Linked DNA regions of Homo sapiens: region 2 is linked to region 1. Evidence: promoter capture Hi-C in human tissues and cell types (Jung and others, 2019). All regions are on one chromosome and are shown on one strand. Each heading gives the region's core, a stretch centred on a gene start or on the middle of the fragment in contact. The rest is flanking DNA. Distances are from core to core; before and after follow the strand shown.

What was found. Contacts are between HindIII fragments. The study calls those that stand out against the background at their distance.
Region 2: a contact is called between a fragment that was not itself captured here and the fragment with the promoter of MECOM in region 1, in 1 of the 25 tissues and cell types used here (lymphoblastoid cells).

The regions. Positions count from the first base shown.
Region 1 is chr3:169,661,758-169,666,284 of GRCh38, forward strand. MECOM (MDS1 and EVI1 complex locus) reads right to left here and starts at 1,955. Exons shown (of 17, transcript NM_004991.4): 1 at 1,579-1,955. The coding sequence starts at 1,615. RefSeq lists a silencer at 847-946. The HindIII fragment of the contact is 10,305 bases long and covers 1-4,443 here.
Region 2 is chr3:169,493,631-169,497,744 of GRCh38, forward strand. All of the region lies in intron 1 of MECOM (MDS1 and EVI1 complex locus), which reads right to left. Among named protein-coding and RNA genes, the nearest start is that of MECOM-AS1, 48 kb to the left of the region's middle. The HindIII fragment of the contact is 4,985 bases long and covers 1-4,053 here.

The sequences.
Region 1 (4,527 bases), core at 705-3,204:
ATACCTACCGTATTTGGTTCTAATGTGCGAGGGTCGCGCGGGGGGAGACTGGGATTTCACTGGGGAGAAGCATCCCACCCATCTCCGATCTCTCATTTCTGCGTTCCGTAAACAACACAATTAGAGAGTTTTGTTTTCGGCGAGTGCGAGTGTGGGAGAGAGAACCGCGGCCTGTCCACTCCCGAGGCAGCTCCAGCCCCGCCTATTGACACCTCAAGGAAGAGCGCTCCCAGCCGCTCCGGGGCTCAGTGTCCCTGAGTCCCCTTCAACTCGAAGTAGAAGCATTTGGACAAACGCAGTCCTGTCGTCTACAGTCCTGGCGGAGCATCACACCGTGTGGGAAAGTGTGGGCCCCGCCGGCAAAGCCAGGCGAGTCATCCAACACTTTTGCTGTAAGAGTGGGGGATGGGACTCCCACCGCCCCCTCCCCAAACCCCTTAGCCCACATCCCGCCAGACCAAGGCCGCTCCGCGCCGGGCAGGCAGGGGGCGCCGGGGAGGGTTATTGACCCTGGACCCAGGCTGCACCCAGACGAAGCGCCGGAGGCTGCGCTGCGCCCTCTCCGCGGCCCAACGCTCTGGCAGCCCGCCCCCTGGGGTTTGCTCGGCGCCCAGCAAGCCCGAGGTGCGCGGGTCGCAGCGCGCCCTCTCTGCCTCCTGCTCCTAGGCTGCCGCCGCTGGCTGTGTGCCCTCCACTCCCGGCTCTCCGAGCGCTCGCTGGGCCTCTTCTCTCCCCACGTCCGAGCGCTCGCTGGGCCTCTTTCCTCCCCACCTGCGCGTGGCTGTGCGGAGCCGGTAGCTCTGCTCTGCCCGTGCCCCCGCCCCCACCCCGCGATCACAGCCCCCACCTTGGTGTCCCCTACTCCCCGCCGCAGTCCTCCCGCCGCGCAGCGCCGCGCCGGAGAGCATGGCCGAGCGCACAGCGCCCACTACCGCAGCCGCGGCTCGGCGCAGTCCACCCGCCCGCCCGCGCAACTTCCAGCGGCCGCCTCGCAACTTTTCCCAAGTCCACCACAGCCGCCCGCCGCCGCCGCCACTGTGGCTCCCTCTGAGCCGCCTACCCTACCCAAACCCCAGAAACAAACCGAGGCTCGAAAAGGCTCCCTTCTCCTGCCGGCCCCCCATCCCCCGCGCCCCCCTCCTCCCACACCCGGGACTAGCTGGTTGGCCAGAGGCAACTCTCCCCCGCCTGGGGGGAAGGGGAGGGGAGGGGGAGACTTTCTCCTCTTCTCTTCCCCCCCACCCCACCCCTTCGCGCTCACTCTCGCGCTCTCTCCTCCCTCCCACCCCTAGTCTTTGCTGCCCCCACCCCCACCCCCACCCCGGGGTTGCCACAGCTGGTCGGTGCGCGGGACTGAGGGCTGCCCAGGCTCCTCCGGCGCCCAACCCGGGAGCGAGAGCGCGGGCGACCGGGAGCAGAGACTGGAACCGGCAGGTTGCTGGGGCTGCGCTCCGCCTGCCCTCCACCCGGGGCCCCGGCGCAAGAGGCAGCCCGCGCTCCCTCCCGGAGCGCTAGAGACAGATATGCAAGATGGCAGAGGAGGGGGAAAAGCCAATAGAAAAGGGATATTGCACCTACTTGTGGCCAGTTTCCTTGCCCTGCCTTTGGATCTCATGCTGTGCCCAGTCCTGCAGCCGCTGGTGTGTGGTTGGGGCTTTTTTTTCTTGGATCCTTTCCTTCTTTTGCTCTCCCTCTCGCTCCCTCCCTCTCTCTCCTGTCTCTCTCTCTCTCTCTCTCTCTCTCTCTCTCTCTCTCTCTCTCTCTCTCTCTCTCCCTCCCTCCTGTTTCTCTCCTGTTTCTCTCTCTCTTCCACACACTCACTCTCTGTATTTTCTTCTTTCACTCTCTCTCCCTCCCTCTCTCCCTTTCTCTCAATCCACACTCGCTATCTCTCCAGCATTGTCAGTTTGGACACCTTCGCACATGCGCGCTAGACGCCCCTCCAACATCTCAGCGCCGCCAAAAAAAGTTTGGAGCGATTTATCACTTTGATTTGGAGATCTTGTCAGATGGCAATCGCCGAGGAGGCGGAGAAAGGGAGCCGCGGGGAGGGCGGCGGGGGGCGGGGAGCGAACGCAGGGAGCCAGAGGGGAGCAGACACCTCGCCCAAAAAAAGGGGAGGGGGGAATTGAAAAGGCTTGGGCAGAGGATTGATTCCATGTTAGAATCGCCAACAAGCTTGTATCATGATTATTGTTATTGTTTTTCCCACCATAAATTGCAGACATTTTTCTATACCATCTACGAGGGAAGCAAGAAGCCAGGGGGGAAAAAAACTTTAAAAACATTTTTTAAAAACCCTTCTCCTGTTAAAGAACTAGAAGGGCTGGACCCTCGGCTAATAATCCAGGAGAAAGTGAGAATCATCCTGAACTTGAGAAATCTACTGCTGCCGCTGCTACTGCTACTGAAGCTATTGCAGCTTCCGCTTTCAGGGTTGTAAGCAGAATAAATAACTGGTTTTTTCCTCGATTTTAGCTGTAATACCAATGCTTGCTGCCATCCTTGGGACATTTCAGTATTCTTTCCCTACCAAGTAGTAATGATCACCCTTGATTCCCGGGTCCGGGCCGGCGCTGGCATTTGACATCCAAAGACCTCCTGCTTTCTCAGAGGTCGGCTGTCACCTTCCGGCCTCCCCCACTGCTGCCCCGGTCGCCTCCCGATGCAGCTCTGCTTGCCTGCCATTTTCACTCACTCGCTTAAACCTACAACCTCGGGGTCAAAAGAAAGAGGAGTAGGGAGGAAAATCACACACTCTTAAAAAAATACATTGTTGAAATTTCCTTTAATTACAGGATTTACCAATGAAGTGCCACTCAGAAATGGGAATTCCTAAAGGGGCTAGCTGTGTACAAGGTATGAATCAATCCCAACTAGGTATAGATTTTCTTTTGGTACAACCTTCTTGCATTAAACAGTTTTGTTCAATACCTTCCATGTGCTATTTATGTCCCCATTAATATCTGTTGCAAATCCTGCCAGACACCATAAAAGAAAATTACAATCTTTTCAGTCTCCGTGCTGCAACAATACATCCTTGATGTTCAAGTTAAAGGAAAAGAAAAGCAGGTCCTGGGCATGAGTTTGGCAAAGGCTGTGGAGGGAAAGGGGAATCATTGAGAATGCCCAGTCGTACCTGTTGGTATTTATTATCAAATCTAGGACTGCAGACATGAGAGAGCAAATAACAAGGTTCAACCCCAAAGGGTATCAATGGCCTGCAAATCTCTTTATTCAAGAGAATCAAAGTTCAAAGAATTTGTCCTTGTTAAGGATGCCTACCATTTTCCTTTATCCAGAGCTGTGTAATTCTGGGGGCATTTGGCTGTAAGATAGAGGTCCCTGGAGAACCAAGCTACAGGTCTCAAGGGAGACAGATGTATAAGGTTGAAATGTGAGGAAGGGAAGTAGGAAGGTAAAGGAGGGAATTACTCACAACAGGAGTAAAACAACTTCCAAAAGAGAAGGCTCTAGTGCCCACACGCGTGGGCACAAGAGAACTCTATTATCCACTCTGAATTAAAGAGGCACCTGGGTTTTTTTCCAGACCTAGAATTCCCGCTGTCCTGTGCATAAAGGTGAGTGTGCTAACACATTTGGTGTGTGCAAAAGCACCAGCCATTCCAACATTCTGTTAGGTTCACACAGGTCTTTGACTCTGAAACTTCCCCCAAAATGTGACTCCACCAGCTTCCCTCAGTTTAGATGGAGAGGTGCCTACCCTCTGACCAGCAAATGTCCTCCGAGGAAACGGAGAAATGGGTCTTGAGAGGCTTTGGAAGGGGGGACAAAATCTCTAGGGAGAGACAAACACTAGGCTGACTGGCAAGAAGTTCATAAGGCTGCTTCTGATCGGTGTAAGAGACTCTCTAGGGACCATCCCCTAGGCCAGGGGACAGACCAGCAGCACCTGAAGATCCCAGCTGTCAAAATCTAGGTCTTGTCCCTCCAATCCTCACCTTCCCTGCCAGGCACCCCAGGGGTGGCTGAGCACCTTGCCTTGGTGCCCAACCGCCAAGGTAGCTTAAAAAAAAAAAAGAAAGAGAAGAAAAGAAAAAAGAAAAGAACCGCCATCCTCCCCTCCACTCCTCCGGCTAATCCCTTTCACCTCATCCCCAGGGGGTCTGTCTATGTCTAGGTTCCCTTGGAGACGGGAGGTTAAGAGGGGTGCAAGAAATGTTCCTAGGAAAGGAGGGGACCAAGGTACCAAACTCTGAGATTAAATGCAAGACCCACATGTGAAGCTGAGCTTGCTGTTGCTGCTGAGAAATTATAAACCACGTGGAGGGTTGGGGAGGTAGGGGGTGGGTTCTGTGAGGGGAACTGGGTGGGAGGTGGAAGACTGAAGTGAATCGGAGTCTCCGAACCTCCAAATTTAAAGGTCCCCGTCTTTTAAACTTTTCTAGAAGGGGGGTTGGCGGAGTGGGAGGCGGAATGAGGCGCGGCTGGAGTACCCCTCCCCTTCTGGTTTGAAGTCTCCGCTGTCGCTTCAGCGCTCCAGCTTTCTCCCTGGTCTTTCTAACA
Region 2 (4,114 bases), core at 311-2,810, 170 kb before region 1:
TGAAGTTCCTCAGATGGGAAATGATTTAATCTGTAGCAACGTCTGACTCTGCATATAATGCTGTGTGAAACAGAAACAGCCCTGACACTTTATGAATAGGGAAATGAGAGAGCCTATTGAAGAAAGCTTGACAGCAAGAATGAAAGAATGAAGATTCAACTTAAGCTGTTGAAAGCCTAACAAGATAAAGGGCAGGAGAGTCTCCTTAAATGTGATGAAATAAGGCCTGAAGGGAAGGAACCATAGAGAGATTGACGAGTACACACTTTGAAACAGAAGATGAGTGTGTTCAACCTGACAGTAACGTGGTTAAATTAATCAAAGTACCAATAACCTTAAACGGTAGGAAAGAATACAGATTTATGCAGCAATCATCTTTGATGGTTGGTGTGAAATTTGAGCTAGATCAAAGAGGTAGAGCTTTTGAGGGAAAATAATTGTTATGATTATACAGCCTTCTCATAACATGTAAACATTACACTGACCATTTCACCGTCTTCTCTGCTTGCCTTGTGTTTTATTTCCTCCACCTTAATATTTTAAAACAGGGGACAATCTCAGTTTTTATTACCCAAAGGAAACACCTAATTTTAAGTGATGTTGCTCTTGTGATTTTTACTGATAAATTTTTGAGAGGGAATATTTTCAGAGAGTAAACTTATTGGTAAAACTAACAAGTTGACAGTTCACACTGCCCAGTTCTTCCTCTCTGGCTCCCAAGGGCGTAAGGCAGCCCAAATACCAAGCCCGCTCTTTGCCTTACTCTTGATTCATGTTGCTATGCTTTGCAAAACTGCTACCCAAGAAGTCAGATGCCACAAGTTCTAACTGTTGAGAATACAATTAAAGCAAGGAAAAGTTAAAAAGATCAAACTATTCTCAAGGTGTAAGCATTGAAATACATTAGCTATAAGCTAACTAAAATGGCCAACTAATCAAAACACCCCATTGAATACACTCATCACCAAAGTTTTATTATACACCACTAAGATCTTCCTGCTTTCACCTATCTGTATTAACTAATCGAGAGCACAATCTTTTAAAGCACTTATTCTTCAAGGGAAGGTAGAGGACAGTGAGGGACCCTGGAGCATCTGTATTTTGTAAAAGCTCCCAGTGTGGTGATTCTGATTCATCTTTCTACTCCAAACTTCCAACTGAGAGTCACTGCCTTCATGAGAAGAAATCTTTTAGTTATCTATTAAACTGTTTCAGCCATGGTGCCATTCACCTTCATCCTTATCATTAAAAATCAATAATGATGATCCAAGGAATGGAAGAGAGTCAATAAATGACACTAGTGAGGATGGAGAGGAGAATCGTGTTTGAAATTCACATCTAGCTTAAATCTTCCCTGTTGTAGGCTAGATCCTTTTCTCCTTCTTGGAAGACATTTGGTCACCATGCTTCTCTTAATAGTCCTTCATACAGTTGAGGACAGTTATTAAGTCACCTCTAAACCTTCTCAATACCGGTAATCCTGATTCCATTCATCTTTTTTCATCAGTGCTATTTTCCAACCCGTTAATCATTTTCATTGCTCTCCCCTGGACCCTATCCAAGTTCTCCACGTATCTTTAACCTTCTGTGAATTATGTGACCGGTTTATAGCTTTGATAAGCCTGGGTAGTGAAAAAGGTAGAATCTCATCACAACAGACTATAATTGTATGTGGGGGAGGACAGGGATGGAGCAGCAGATGGTTCAATTGTACAGAAAGTTTCACCACAAATATGATATTAATTTAAGTTTTTATTCTTTGATAATTATTTCTAAACACACCATATTATAATATTCTGAGCTACAATTAGAGTCTGTATTTTACACACCTGTCTTTTTAGTGTGAACCTGTGTCTGGCCTGGTTCTTTTGCATAATAGAAGAGACTATATTTTTCGAAAGAATGCTTGTTTCTTAGTTGAAACAACTTTTAATTACAAAGAAGTACTATTCATAACACCTCTAAGAAATGGAGAGACTAGCATATTTTCATATTCCAATACTCATTCTTTCCATGGCTTTTCCAAATGAGGCTAAATGGCCCAAACCTGAATATACTGGTAATTTGGACACTGGCCTCACTATCAAAACTATGAACCAGTCACTCACAAAAGCTCTTCAGTTTCAAAGCCATTAGTCACATTGTACTTACAGAAGGCAGCATGGCACAGTGATGTTAATTGATGGCTGGCCGCTTACTAGCTGAAAACTTTCAGCAGGTTGGGGTTGTCCTTTCCTCTTCTTTTAGAATAGATAATAATAGAGCTGTGTCATAAGACTGATGTGAGGATCTCATGAGCTATACCTGTAAAGTCTTCAAAACAGTGCCTGACACATAGTAAGCATAACGACCCTACCAGTAAAAGGGTCGACTCCAACTAGAAGTCACAAATATGGAGAACAAATGAGGACATGCAAAGCTTTTCTCTTGGATCTGCATTTAGGATATGGGAGCCTCCTCAAACAAGAAAAAGCCCTGTTGTTATGGGGAAATTGGAAGCAAAGAAAATTCTGCAGTGGCCAGTGGCAGAATTTCTCACCATTGAAAACATATTAGGGATGGGCAGAGTCTATCAGGAGTTCACTGGAATTCAGTGGCTAGCCAGTTGCCTCTATAAGCCTTAAAGATTCCCTTGAAGACAGACAATACACCCGTCTTTGGAAACATATTCTCATGTTAGAACCAAACGTGCATATGGAAATTATTATCCCTTAGCTAAGAGCTTTTGTTTTAAAACCCTTGTGGTGTTTGTAACCTAAAAGAGGGATTTCCTCAAGTTTTCTAAAACTGCCTCATTTTTTTTAAGAATCACCATGATCCATACCTCATTTGAGATCAAGTGAATCGTCAAACTAATGTGTTTTTTCAGGAAGCTAATTCTGTGACTTCCTTAAAGAGAGGGTTGCTCTTCCCAAGGGTTATCGGCAAGCCACTGCTCTGGCTCCTTGTGCCAGTTGTTCTTCCTGACTGGCCATTTCCCCTCTGGCTGGAGATAACCCTGCAATGACTTCAAATTCTTTCGTTCAGTATCTGATTCCATCTCCATCATAAAGCCTTCCTCAGAGCATGGTTGGACCTAAGCATTTCCACGTCTTAGTTCATTCCCAAGATCCCAAGTTGACTTTTGCTTGAACTTCAGTGGAAAATCCAAATCATGTGAAAATCAAAAAGAAAATAATGGCTCTTTCTTGATTCTATTTTCTAAACATATGGTAATGAACAATAAATGTTTACAGGTAGCTGTGATGGCTACAGAAAAATTTTCTTTGGGACCCCCATAAAATAGATTATATTCAGTAAACACAGCCAAGCATGCATAAACTTTAAGAAAGATTTTAGCCTTCTATCCATTCAAACTATTACCCTATTTCTTCCCTCTTTATTGCTACCATTCCTTCTGAAAAAGAGTTTATAAATTCATAACACATTAAAATGAGCAGACTCTTTAGTTCCTTAATCCTAGCAGTCTGATTTAGTAATTTCTTTAATGGCAATATTATTCTCCCCATGCCACAGTTCATATTTGACTTCTCTTGACTCCTTGCTTCCCACTTACTATCAGCAACCAAGTCCTGCTTATTCTTACCTTATTATATTGTTCTTTCTATCCCTATTGCCACAACCTACTTCAGGTCCTTATCATTTACTCCCAATGCTTCTTTTGCAATAGCCCACTAACTAGCTCTCTAATTCTTCAATTTTTCTCTTTTTCTTTTTCTTTTTTTTTTCTTTTGAGATGGAGTCTTACTCTGTTGCCCAGGCTGGAGTGCAGTAGTGTGATCTCAGCTCACTGCAACCTCTGCCTCCTGGGTTCAAGTGATTCTCCCGCCTCAGCCTCCCAAGTAGCTGGAATTACAGGTGCCTGCCACCAGGCCCGGCTAATTTTTTTTCTTTTACTGGTATTTTTAGTAGAGATGGAGTTTTACCATGTTGGCCAGGCTGGTCTCAAACTCCTGACCTCAGGTGATCCACCCGCCTCGGCATCCCAAAATGCTGGGATTACAGGCATGAGACACAGCTCCCGGCCAGTTTTTCTCTCTTGTAATTCATCCTGCATACCTTTGCCAAAACAAACATCCTAAAGCATAATTCTGATTATGTCTCCTCACATTTC